2 separate regions of the Homo sapiens genome follow, and region 2 is linked to region 1. The links are contacts of gene promoters, found by promoter capture Hi-C in human tissues and cell types (Jung and others, 2019). All regions are on one chromosome and are shown on one strand. Each heading gives the region's core, a stretch centred on a gene start or on the middle of the fragment in contact. The rest is flanking DNA. Distances are from core to core; before and after follow the strand shown. Region 1 holds the start of SLC9A1 (solute carrier family 9 member A1). Region 2 has its middle 7.2 kb from the start of KDF1.

Region 1 (6,680 bases), core at 1,953-4,452:
ATCATTTTACAATGGGAAAACTGAGGTCCAAGGCTGAGTGACTTGCCAGAGTTTCCAGAGTCAGTGGAATGACAGAAATATCACACCTGGAAGGGACCACAAAGATCAACTGATGGGTAGGGAGGCGTGACTGGTCCAAGGACAGAGGGAGGTAGGAAGAGAAGCCAGGTTTTCCTGACTTCTAGACTGATATTGTTGCCATGACACCATCTCTGCTCTCCAGCTGCCCAGGGTCCCGGGCACAGCACTTGGGTGGTGACAAAGCAGGCCAGGCCAAGCTGACCTCATTAGCACTAGAGATACCAGGCCTGCAGGGACAAACTTCTGACTGCCTAGAGTGGGGTCTCTGCAGTCATGCTGTCATCCCACCAGCAGCCACTGACACTCAAAGTGTGTCTGCCAGCCCTGAATGCCCTAATGTAATGCCAGGTGTGGTGGGCAGGTGAGGGGATCGGGGACAGGAGGCAATTTATAGATTGCACTTGTGAGGTCTCCTCCTGGTCTCACACAGTCAAATGACATCACTGTCACTTCAGCTTCTTACAGCAAATCAGACGACATTTCATGACTCAATTGGTGTGGTCAAATTGAGAGTCTTAACCATTTCACAGGTGAGGGAGACCTGCAGAAAAAGGCCTCAGCTATTCAAGGTCATGCATTTATGTCAGAATCAGTACACATGGTTCCCCTTGTCCAGTCCTTGATTTCTCTCCAGGAAGCTAACTGCCATCAAGGTATAGGTGCTGATGGCTTAGTTCCATGTAAGGCTCTGCTACTGTGACCAGCTTGGCACAAGAGCCCTGCACCAGGAACCCAGCTCCTGGATCTGTCAAATTAGAGGCACCACTTCCCTCCCGCTGCATGTCCCAGAGCCTGCCTCACACCAGCCCGGCAGCACCGCTCAGCTCCTGCATGTCCTTGGGAGAGCTGGAAGGTTTCCTGCCAAATTCCCAAACCCAAATCTCAGGCAGAGGGGACAGCAGAGTCCCAGGACCTCATGCCTTCCACAGCCAGCTGGGGGCAAGCTGAAAATGCAAAGGCAGTTGTCAAAGTCCCCCTGAACACCACTTTCAGGGACTTCTGGGCAATGTAGGCTCCAGTAAGCTCCCCCAATCACTCAGCAGAACAGAGTGCTCAGGCCTAGCAGGGAGACCAATACTCTGAGAGCAAATAAGTTGTCTGTTTCCTTCTCCCCAAAAGAAGGTTTCAAAGTCTCTTCAGGCCTGAACATCCCTAGGCTCCCCCATCTACCTCATCTACTTGATTGAGCAGCAGGCCAGACAGCACCCTGAGACACAGCCAGGCAGCGACCTGGGGGTGAGCTGGGGTCAGACCAAGCCTCAACCTCCTCTACTCTCCCTCCACTTCCAAAACAGACTTCAGAAATTTCCAGGGCCCCTTGTCCCACAGATTCTATAAAGTATGGCATTCCTGGGCCGGAAATTGACTCAGGGGCTCCTAACTAGCCTGGACAAGCAAAGCTGACAGATAACATTCTGGAGATGAAGGAAAGGTGGGAATATGGGGATCCCCTGTGTTCCACCACACTTGTAAGTTTCCTGTGCCCAGGTCTCCACTATGCTTAAACTCCTCAAGCAGGCCAAGTAGAAATATACTCCATCCTGGAACACGCTCCAGTGAAGCCTGTCATAAATTGCACTGGTTGCTGTTGACAGAGCAGAATGTGCCACTCGCCAGAAGACACTCCTTTCTGTCTCACACACAGCGGGGTGCCTGGCTCCCCTGGGGGTCTGGCCCAGCCAGAGGAGACTTGCCAGTCGTGGAAGCCTTACTGAAGGGACCTAGGATCAGAGGCATCCCATTCTCTAATCCTGCTCTCTTCTGTGCACAGTGCTGGCTCCAATCTTGGGAAGCCTCAGATCACAGATCAGAAGCCACAGAACTGGAGCCTGAGAAGGACCAAGGTGGCAGGATGGAGACTGCCTACTTTATGGGGGTAGTTCAGATCCTTACTCCTGGACAGCCTCAAATGGTGCGAGATGAGGCAAGAAGCTCACCAGTCTGGTGGCGGCCGCAGCATCGGAGCAAACGGGACTTACCTATCTTCATGAGGCAGGCCAGAAGGATCCAGAGGGAGATCTCGAAGGGGGTGCGCACGTGTGTGTAGTCGATGCCCAGGACTGGAAAGGCCTTGCGCGGCTTCATGCCATGATCAGTGACGGAATGATTAACAGGGCGGCTCTCTGGGGTGACCTCCGGTGGAGCGGTGGTGACATCCCCAATCGAGCGTTCTCGTGGTGGCTCTGAGCTTCGAATGGTGCTGGCAGTTGGGCTGAGCTGGAGGCCATGGCTCCTGAGAACAGGCAGCAGCCCCACCAAAGCAACCACCACGAGTAAGGAAGGGAAGATCCGATGTGGAGAGAGGCCACAGATGCCAGACCGCAGAACCATGGTGCTGCTTCCAGAGCCAGCCTCGACCTTACCCAAATGAGAGTAAAACCGGGCACATAGGTAGCAAAGGGTCAGCAAGTGGGAAGAGAGACTGGCGTAGTCTCTAGGAAAAGTTCATGTTTTAGAGAGGCATTTCCATGGAAGCAATTTTCTGGGGGTGGAGGGAGGCTGGGTTTGCAATCTGGAACTCCAAAGTGGGGAAAGGGGGCAAGGACCCAGGAACGACCACGAAAGGAGACCAAAAGGTCTGGAACTCCGGGCCTGGGAAGGGGGAGGACGGATGTGGGAAACTGAGCCCTAGGGATAGAGGAAGGGGCAGGATAGGGATAGTGCAAAGGAAAGGAAGAAGGAAGGCTGGGACCTTTGGCTGAGGAAAGTGACTGAGGAGCTGGGACTCTGGGCTGTGGGCTAAAGGAAGGGGTAGGGAGCCTGAGCTAAAGGAAGGGGACCGAAGGGGGTGAGAGCCAGTCCAGGAAAAGGAGAGAGGGGGCTGGGAGCCCAGGCTGAGAAGGAGTGAAACCGGGAAGCGGCCGGGAGCTTCTCCACCCAGAGAGGGGCAGGGGTCCAGGCGCGCCGGGCTGAGATTCCGGGGAAATGGAAAGAGGCGGAAGGCAGGCGGCCTGGCGGGAAGGCGCCTCGGCGCGGGCTGGGGGCGGCTCGCGGTGGGCCAGCAGCAACACGCCCCTCCTCGCGGCCCTGGCGCGACGCGGCGCTCCGCCCCGGCCCAGCTGCAGCTCCTCCTGGTCCAGCTCCAGAACTAACCCTAGCCCCGGCCCCGGCGGCAGCAGACTGAAGCCTAGCTGAGCCCGGCGCTGTCACTTATAGGCACCAGCGAGCAGCCGGTGCGGCGGGCTAGAGAGACCGTCGGCACCCGCCCAGCGCAGCGGCCCCTGTCGCCGAGGGAAAGAAGTATCGCGTAGGAAGAGGAAGGAGAGTCAGAGATGACAAAAAAAAAAAAAAAAAAAAGTCCTGAATATACAGAGAACCTCACTAACGCGAGTAAAATGCCGACTACTTACAAAACGATTTCACGTCCACATCTGCAGTCTCATAAGGGCTTTCGAATAATCCTGTGAAGAATGTATTATTAGTTTATGTATTTAGTTACCGTGTGACCTTGAGCAAGTTACTTAACCTGTTTCACAACTTTCTCATCTGTTAAGTAGAGACAGTAATAGTGACTATGTCAGAGGGATGATGTAATGACTGAGACAATCCGTGTAAACTATTTGGAATGCACCCTGGCACATTATTACAATTCCACTTTTACAGATGAGGAAACAGGTGAAGAGAGTCCCCTGGCTACTATGCAAGTAGTTGTATTGCTTACTAGGGCTGCCGTAACAAAGTATCACCCCAAACTGGGTGGCTGCAACAACAGAAATTGATTGTCTCACAGTTCTGGAGGCTGGAGGTCGGATCTAGGTGTTGGCAGGGTTGGTTTCAGCTGAGAGCTATGAGGGAGAATCTGTCCCATGCCTTTCTCCTACCTTCCAGTGGTTTGTTAGGACTATCTGGTATTCCATGGAGTTCTCCTGGTGTCTCTGTCTCTGCGTCCAGATTCCCCGCCCACACTTTATTTTTATTTTTATTTTTTTTGAGATAGAGTCTGGCTCTTGTTGCCCAGGCTGGAGTGCGGTGGCGCCATCTCAGCTCAATGCAACCTCTGCCTCCTGGATTCAAGCGATTCTCCTGCCTCAGCCTCCAGAGTAGCTGGGATTACTGGCACCCACCACCACGTCCAGCTAATTTTTGTATTTTTAGTAGAGATGGGGTTTCACCATGTTGGTCAGGCTGGTCTCGAACTCCTGACCTCAGGTGATCCACCCGCCTCGGCCTCCCAAAGTGCTGGGATTACAGGGGTAAGCCACAACCCCCAGCCAGATTTCCCCTTTTTATAAGGACACCAGTCATTGGATTAGAAATCCAACGTAATTACCTCATCTTAACCTGAACATCTTCAAAGACTGCATCCTAATTAGTCCATCTTCATAGGCACTGGGCATTAGGACTTCAACTTCTTTTGCCGGGACACAATTCAACCCACAACAGTGGCATGCTTTAAGTAGTGGAACTTAAATTTGAACCTATAGTTTGGTTGAAATTGGTGAGGTTCAAGGGATCATGGCTGTACAATGGAATCACTGGAAAGCTTTTTTAAAATACCATTGTCTAGGCCGGGCGTAGTGGCTGACGCCTGTAATCCCAGCACTTTGGGAGGCCGAGGCGGGCGGATCACGAGGTCAGGAGATCGAGACCACGGTGAAACCCGGTCTCTACTAAAAATACAAAAAATTAGCCGGGCGCAGTGGCGGGCGCCTGTAGTCCCAGCTACTCGGGAGGCTGAGGCAGGAGAATGGCGTGAACCCGGAAGGCGGAGCTTGCAGTGAGCGGAGATCGCGCCACAGCACTCCCGCCTGGGCGACAGAACGAGACTCCGTCTCAAAAAAAAAAAAAAAAAAAAAAAATTAGCCGGGCGTGGTGGCACATGCCTGTAATCCCAGCTAGTCAGGAGGCTGAGGCAAGAGAATCACTTGAACCCAGGAGGCGGAGGTTGCAGTAAGTCAAGATTGCACCACTGTACTCCAGCCTGGGCAACAGAGCGAGACTCTGTCTCAAAAAAAAATAAATAAATAAAAATAAATACCATTGTCTGATAAAATTAGCTGTGCTTGGTAGTCCTAGCTGCTTGGGAGGCTGAGGCAGGAGTATCATTTGAACCTAGGAGTTTGAGACTACAGTGAACTATGATCCACCACAGCACTCTAGCCTGGGCAACAAAGGGAGACCCTGTCAATCATAGTAATCATCATCATCATCATCTTTTGTAAAATATCATTTTCGGGGACCCACCGTCAGAGATTTAGATTCAATTACTTCAGGGTAGTGCCAAAGTATTTTTTTCAAAGGCTCTGATATACAACTAGGGTTGGGAGGTATAGAAATCACTGAAATGCTGTCCCTGTTTTGCAGAAGAGTACATTAAGGCCAAAACAGTCAAAGTGTCTAGCTCAAGGTCACATCACAAGTACTTGAGATTCAATTTAGTTTAACAAATGTTTACTGGGCCTCTTGACAGGGCTTTGTGCTGGGCTCTGGCAACACAGAGATAAGCCAGAGGGAGGAAGGAGGTGGTAGGAATTGGGAGGGGGCATAAAGTGGACATAATGAGGGCTTCTAGAATGCTGGTAATGTTCTATTTCTTTACTGGGTGATAGCTACAAAGGTTACAGCGACGTAGTTGTTTCGTGATAACTCACTGAAGACTCAAGATGTGTGCACCTTTTTCTAGGTATGCTATCCTTCCATGGAAAAATATATTAAAATAATAATAAGCTAGCAGCAGTGGCTCATGCCTGTAATCCCCGCAACTCAGGAGCCTGAGATGGGAGTATCAGTTGAGGCCAGGAGTTTAAGACCAACCTAGGCAACATAGGGAGACCCTGTCTTTAAAAAAAATAAGTAAAATAAAATAATAATATCCAGGTGCAGTGGCATGCACCTGTAGTCCCAGCTACTTGGGAGGCTGAGGCAGAAGAATCACTTGAACCCAGGAATTTGAGGCTGTAATGCACTATGATTGTGCTTGTGAAATAGCCACTGCACTCCAGCCTGGGAAACATAGTGAGACCCATCTCTAAAAATTAATTAGGCCAGGCACAGTGGTTCACGCCTGTAATTCCAGCACTGTGGGAGGCTGAGGCAGGCAGATCACTTGAGGTCAGGAGTTCAAGACCAGCCTGGCTAACATGGCAAAACCCTGTCTCTACCAAAAAATACAAAAATTAGCTGGGCGTGGTGGAGCATACCTATAGTCCCAGCTACTTGGGAGGCTGAGGTGGGAGAATCCCCTGAACCCAGGAGACGGAGGTTGCAGTGAGCTGAGATTGTGCCACTGCACTCCACCCTGGGTGACAGAGGGAGACTCTGTCTCAAAATAAATAAATGAATATAAAAATAAAATAATTAATAAAGTGATATGATAGTAACTGAAGGTGGCAACATTAAACTGAGTTCTCTCTCTCTCTCTCTTTTTTTATAATCCCATGCCTAAACTGAGTTCTCTGTACCTCACATTCTCCAGGCACAAATTCCAGCCACCTGGGAAATGACAAAAGAGACTTCAGAGAAGGGCAGGGGACTTGTGTCATCTGGGAGCAGATGAAAGGAGAACATCAGCTATAATGAAAGTAACCAAAGAGCATTTCGAGCAAGGATCAGAATAATAACAATAATGCCTCACAATTGTTCAGCCCTTTAGAGTTCAC
Region 2 (6,680 bases), core at 2,842-5,341, 190 kb before region 1:
TATTCAAAAAGTCTGTCAAAAATCAATGACACTTGGGCCAGGCACAGTGGCTCATGCCTGTAATCCTAGCACTTTGGGAGGCCGAGGCAGGTGGATCACTTGAGATCAGAAGTTCGAAACCAGCCTGGCCAACATGGTGAAACCCCGTCTCTACTGAAAATACAAAATTAGCCAGGCGTGGTAGTGGGCGCCTGTAATCCTAGCACTTTGGGAGGCCGAGGCTGGCAGATCACCTAAGATCGGGAGTCTGAGACCAGCCTGGCCAACATGGTGAAACCCTGTCTCTACTAAAAATACAAAAATTAGACAGGCATGGTGGCAGAAGCCTGTAATTGCAGCTACTCAGGAGGCTGAGGCAGGAGAATCGCTTGAACCTGGGAGGCGGAGGTTGCAATGAGCCAAGAACACTCCATTGCACTCCAGCCTAGGTGACAAGAGCAAAACTCTGTCTCAAAAAAAAAACCCAAAAAAAATCAATGACACTCTAGATACATACACAAAATAATCAGAACAGGGCTTCAAACAGATACTTGTATGCCAGTGTTCATTGCAGCATTATTCACAATAGCCAAAAGGTAGAAACAACCCAACAGATGAATGGATGAACAAAATGTGATATATACGTACAAGGGAATATTATTCAGTCATAAAAACAATGAAGTTCTGACACATGCAACAATAGGTATGAACCTTGAAGACATTATGCTAAGTGAAATAAGCCAGACACAAAGGACAAATATTGTATGATTCTCACTTACATGAAATATCTAGAATAGTCAAATTAATAGAGACAGAAAGGTTAGCCGTTATCAGGGGCTGGAGGGAGAGGGGAATGGGTAGTTACTGCTTAATGGGTACAGAGTCTCTGTTTGGAGTGATAAAAAAAAGTTTTGGAAATAGATAGTTGTGATGGTTGCACAACACTGTGAATGTAATTAATGCCACTGAATTTATATTTTAAAATAGTTTAAATGGCAGATTTTATGTAGAAGTATTTTCCCACAATTAAAAACCAAACAATAATAAAAATACTAATAATTTTATTAATCAATTTAAGTAAATAAATTTTTATTAGTCAATTTAAGTAAATAAATAAAATTTTTTAAATAAATAAATAAATAAATAAATAAATAACAAAACAAGCCAGGCGCGGTGGCTCACCCTGTAATCTCAACACTTTGGGAGGCCGAGGTGGGCGGATCACCTGAGGCCAGGAGTTCGAGACCAGCCTGACTGACATGGTGAAACCCCGTCCCTGGTAAAAATACAAAAAAATTAGCCAGGCGTGGTGGCTCATGCCTGTAATCCCAGCTAATCGGGAGGCTGAGGCAGGAGAGTAGCTTGAACCCAGGTGGCGGAGGTTGCAGTGAGATTGCGCCATTGCACTCCAGCCTGGACGCCAGAGCGAAAATCTGTCTCAAAATAAATAAGTAAATAAAAATAAATAAACAAAAAATAACAAAACCAACCCCCTCCCTACAAAACAAACAAACAAACAAACAAACAAACAAAAAACAAACAAAAAATTGACACTCTTTGAAGCAAAACAGAGTACCTTATAGGTCCATCATTCAGCCGACAAAGGAGAGAGAGGTCTACTGGGGTGAGTTTTCCGGGTCACAACCTGCCTCTCCTGTGCGCTTTCCTTTACACTTTACAAAACAAACACATTTTTTACTTGATCCATATTACAGCCCTATGAGGTTGGCAATGTCATATTCATTTTTACAAGTGGGGAAACTGAGGCCATCAAGGTTAGACCATTTGCTCAAGGCCACACTTCTAATGAGTAGTAAAGCTGGGTGGGAACCCCATCTTTCTGACTCCCCATACAATGTTCCTCACTGTGCCCTCCTCCAAGCCCTTACAGCTGTGTCTGGGTTTCTTTCTTTTTTTTGAGACAGAGTCTTGCTCTGTCTCCCAGGCTAGAGTGGAGTGGCGTGATCTTGGCTCACTGCAACCTCCGCCTCCCAGGTTCAAGTGATTCTCCTGCCTCAGCCTCCCTAGTAGCTAGGACTACAGGCGTGTGCTGCCACACCTGGCTAATTTTTTGTATTTTTAGTAGAGACGGAGTTGCATCGAGTTAGCCAGGATGGTCTCAATCTCCCGACCTCGTGATCCACCCGCCTCAGCCTCCCAAAGTGCTGGGATTACAAGCATGAGCTACCGCACCCAGCGTGTCTGGGTTTCTTTCTAAGCAGAGTGGACAACTGCCTCTGTCATCAGCCTCTTGAGCTCAGTTTTTCCTTTTGGCCTTGACCTGGGGCCATTGTCCCAATCCCCTGCTTTCCCCATGGTTGCTCCACTCTGTTCAATTTTTACTTTTCTGATCACCCTCCTCAGCCACCATTTAGGCTCCCAGGCTGGTGGTGACAGCTTGGTGGGAGGAGGGAAGTATCAAGGATGACGCTGGGCTTCTGGCTGTGTTACTGGATGAATGGAGATGACTGGGGAGGACCAGTTTGGGGTGTAAGAATGCAAACGTAGTGTTAGACCTATTGAATTTGATGGTCTGTAAGATAGCCCAGACATATCACCATTGTATCCATGGATGCCATTTTGGAGTGCTGTTTAGGAGCTGCAACACGTACAGCGCTGGGGCTGTGGAGGAGCCGTGGGTCAGGGGAATGTAGGCAGTGGTGTGTGGAGCCGGCTTCAGTGGACCTGCTTCCCTTCCTTCCCTGGGTATCTGCTGCTTGCCTCTGGTGTGCTTCTCCCATAAGGGCACTAGGGGACAGCACACAACAGTGGAAATTGCCAGAACTTCAGGGTCACAGGTTCTGACTTGGAATACTAGATGCTCAGCTGTGGTGTGAACTTAGCCTCTTTGGACCTCAGCATTTCCTTTTTTTTTTTTTTTCTTTTTTGAAACGGAGTCTCGCTCTGTTGCCCAGGCTGGAGTGCAATGGTGCGATCTTGGCTCACTGCAACCTCTGCCTCCTGGCTTCAAGCGATTCTCCTGCCTCAGCCTCTGGAGTAGCTGGGATTACAGGCACAGGCCACCACGTGCAGCTAATTTTTGTATTTTTAGTAGAGATGGGGTTTCACCATGTGACCGGGCTGGTCTCGAATTCCTGACCTCAGGTGATCCACCCACCTCGGCCTCCTAAAGTGCTGGGATTATAGGCGTGAGCCACCACGCCTGGCCTGGACCTCAGCATTTCTCATCCAAAAATGGTTTTAACATGAGGTAAGATAACACAGTGGTTTAGAGTGTGAGTTCTGGAGCCATAGGATCTGAACTCGTGCCCCAGCTCATACACGTACTTGCTGTGTGTTCCTTTGGCCAAGTTATTGAACTCCTCTGTGCCTCAGACACCTCATCTGTAAAGTGTGGGTGATAGCTTCATGTGGTGATTACAACCGAGACCAGCACATGGTAAGTGCTAAACAGATGTTAGCTATTTTATATTAACCCCCTTCCTCACCTCCACACCCCACCCTCTGGCTCCCTGCCCCGCCATTCTGGGGCTGGGACTCTCAAAGGCAAGACCACTGCCTCTGAGAATAAGCTGAGCAAATTACTGGTATTGACCACGACTGCCTACAACATGTTAGGTTTATTATGTGCCTTATTCCATTTAATCCCCATAATAAGGCCAGCAGGGTGGCTCACACCTGCAATCCCAGCACTTTGAGTGGCCAAGACAGGAGGATCGTTTGAGCTCAGGAGTTCAGACCAGGCTGGGAAACAGCAAGACCTTGTCTCTGCCAAAAAAAAGGAAAGAAAAGAAATTAGCCAGTATGGTGATGCACGCCCGTGGTCCCAGCTACTCAGGAGGCTGAGGCAGGAGGATCACTTGAGCCTAGGAGGTCAAGGTTGCAGTGAGCAGTGATCATGCCATTGCACTCCAGCCTGGGTGACAGAGCAAGACCCTGTCCCCCAAGCGAAAAAAAAAATCCTCACAATAACTCAGTAAACAGATCTCAAACTCCTGTTTTACAGCTAAGAAAACAGAGGCTCAGAGATTTAAACCACTTGCCCAGGGTCACATAGCTAGTAAGTGGCAGAGCCTAGAGCTGAGCCCAAGTTCATTCTGGTTCAGAGCCTGAGCTCTTTGCAGTGGCTCCTCTGGGCCCCCCAGAAACTGGGTCCTTAGAGGCCGGCTGCGTTGGCTCACACCTGTAATCCTAGCACTTTGGGAGGCCGAGGTGGGCGGATCACCTGAGGTCATGAGTTCGAGACCAGCCTAACCAACATGGAGAAACTCCATCTCTACTACAAATACAAAATTAGCTGGGCATGGTGGCTCATGCCTGTAATCCCAGCTACTTGGGAGGCTGAGGCAGGAGAATCGCTTGAACCCGGGAGGTGGAGGTTGCAGTGAGCCGAGATCACACCATTGCACTCCAGCCTGGGCAACAAGAGCGAGACTCCATCTCAAAAAACAAAACAAAACAAACAAAAAAAACTGTTACGCTTGTGGGGTGGGGGTGGCGGTGAAGGGGGTGAGGGGCAAGCGAACAGGGCTCTGTACTGTGTGAGAGCTGTGGAGAGAGGTGCAGGGGAAGCCCCCTGGAACTCCAGGCTGCACTGTTAGACGGGAGCCCCCAGGGATTCCTGGGGTTCTCTGTCTTGTGCCAGTGCTGCACCCCATTGGCTGGGCCTAGAGGGAGCTGCAGGCTGAGGAACCCTATCTTGTGCCAGGTTGAGGCAGGATCTGCTGGTTGGTTCCAAGTCCCTAGTAAAAGTATTTTCCAGAGTCCTTGTGCCAAAAGAAGCTTCACCCAACCCCCTCAATTTGCCAATGAGAAAATGAGGTGCGAGAGGGGAACGAGCTTAGTTGAGGTCACATAGTGAGTAAGGGGTGGGCCTTGGTGAATATGGACCTCTGCTTCCTCACTTGCCTCTGTGTGGTGTCAGGTTAAACCTGGGTTCAGATCCTGCCTTTACTGCTTGGTGCTTTGTGAGCCTGGACAAGTGACTCAGACTCTCTGGGCTTTAGTTTCTACATCAGTGAAATGCATTTATTCATTCAGCCCTTCTCTTGGCTGCACCCTCATCCCCCACCATACTACTCCCTCACTGTTACACACACACACACACACACACACACACACACACACACACACACACACACACAGAGGAAAGGCTACACATGGCCAAGCTGAGGCTCCTGGTCACTCAGAGAGAGCACTGCAGCTCTGGCCACTGAACACCACCCCCTACGTTCTGCCCACCCCAGCCAATGTCACTTCCAAGAGCCAATGCCTCTTGGAAGCCTTCCTAGAGAGCCCCCAGCTAGAAGGCTGTCCCCTATGCTAAGTCAAGGCCATCTGGGTCCCTAAGTGATCTTGACCTCCCCTGCTGCTTTTCCTGCCTTCAGACTGAAGCTCCCAGTGGGCAAGGTCTGTTCTGATTCATCCCTGAGTCCCCAGCACCCAGCCAGGGCAGAGCCCAAAGGCTCTGGCTGGGAGTGTTTATGGAGGGGGTAAGTGAAGGAGGCCCCTCCAATTCTTCCCCTTTCTCAGGAGCCCATGACCACCAGCTTTGCCTCCCAAACCATCGATGTGGGAGAAAGTGCCCTGGAGAGAGGGTCAAACAGACCTGGGATGGAATCCTGGTCCAGCCTTTTCCTAACTGTGTGAACTTGGGAAATGACCTCACTTTTCCGAGCCTCAGTTTCCTCTTCTATAGATAGCATTCCTGAGGAGGAGACATTTAAGCTGAGAATGGAAAGACCTAGATGGAAAGACCGAGAGGAAGAGTGTTCCAGGCAGGGTGAACAGCTGGTGCAAAGGCCCTGAGGTTGGGATAAGCTCAGCATGTTAGAGGAACAGGAAGGAAGCCAGTGTTGTCCGAGTGCAGTGAGCAAGGGGGAGAGGGACTTCTTTTAATCTTTTTTTTTGAGACGGAGTCTCATGCTGTCACCCAGGCTGGAGTGCAGTGGTGCGATCTCGGCTCACTGCAACCTCCACCTCCTGGGTTCAAGTGATTCTCTTGCCTCAGCCTCCTGAGTAGCTGGAATTACAGGTGTGCACCGCCATGCCTGGGTAATTTTTGTATTTGTAGTAGAGTAGGAGTTCATCATGTTGGTCAGGCTAGTCCCGAACTCTTGACCTCGTGATCTGCCCGCCTTGGCCTCCCAAAGTGCTGGGATTACAGGTGTGAGCCACCATGCCTGCCCGGGACTTCTTTTAATCTAAGGGATATGGGAACTGACTGGAGGGTGTTGAGCCAGGGAGTGGCCCTGGTTGCTGTATGGTGATTGCAGGAAGGCAATGCTTACGCGGGGAGTCCAGGTGAGAGATGATGGCACCTGGGGACATGGTGAGAAGTGGTCAGATCCATGAAATATTCCAGAGGCGGATCCCACAGGACTGGATGCAGAGGGTGAGGGAAGAGGGGACTTAGGGTATCCCTTATTTCAGTTGCTTATTGCTGAGAAACAAACTATCCCCAAAACTTAGTGGCATAAAACAACAATGATATATTATTTCTAAAAATTCTGTGGCTTGGTTGGGGCTCAGCAGGGCAGTTCTGGTTCCGCCTGGCTGATGCATGTGGCTGGGAGCTTAGCTGAGACTGGATCACCCAAAACGGCTTGTCTTCCTCCACGGCCTCTCATCATTCAGAAGTCTAGCCGACCGTGTTTTAGCGTGGCAGCTGGCCTCCAAGAGGACAAGCCCCAGTGTGCAAATGCTTATCAAGCCTCTGCTTGCTTCATGCTTCTTGGTGT

The links. The method cuts DNA at HindIII sites, captures the fragments that hold promoters and counts their contacts. A contact is called where the count stands out against the background at its distance.
Region 2: a contact is called between a fragment that was not itself captured here and the fragment with the promoter of SLC9A1 in region 1, in 4 of the 25 tissues and cell types used here (IMR-90 fibroblasts, aorta, heart right ventricle and 1 more).

Annotation. Positions count from the first base shown.
Region 1 is chr1:27,151,923-27,158,602 of GRCh38, forward strand. It overlaps SLC9A1 (solute carrier family 9 member A1), which reads right to left and starts at 3,203. Exons shown (of 12, transcript NM_003047.5): 1 at 2,061-3,203. The coding sequence starts at 2,412. LOC102723760 (a long non-coding RNA gene) reads left to right here and starts at 5,639. Exons shown (of 3, transcript XR_426674.4): 1 at 5,639-5,704; 2 at 6,497-6,602. RefSeq lists enhancers at 442-491, 4,098-4,597 and a silencer at 2,923-3,152. The HindIII fragment of the contact is 28,159 bases long and covers 1-6,680 here.
Region 2 is chr1:26,964,357-26,971,036 of GRCh38, forward strand. No RefSeq gene overlaps it. Among named protein-coding and RNA genes, the nearest start is that of KDF1, 7.2 kb to the left of the region's middle. RefSeq lists a silencer at 2,375-3,075. The HindIII fragment of the contact is 6,129 bases long and covers 1,028-6,680 here.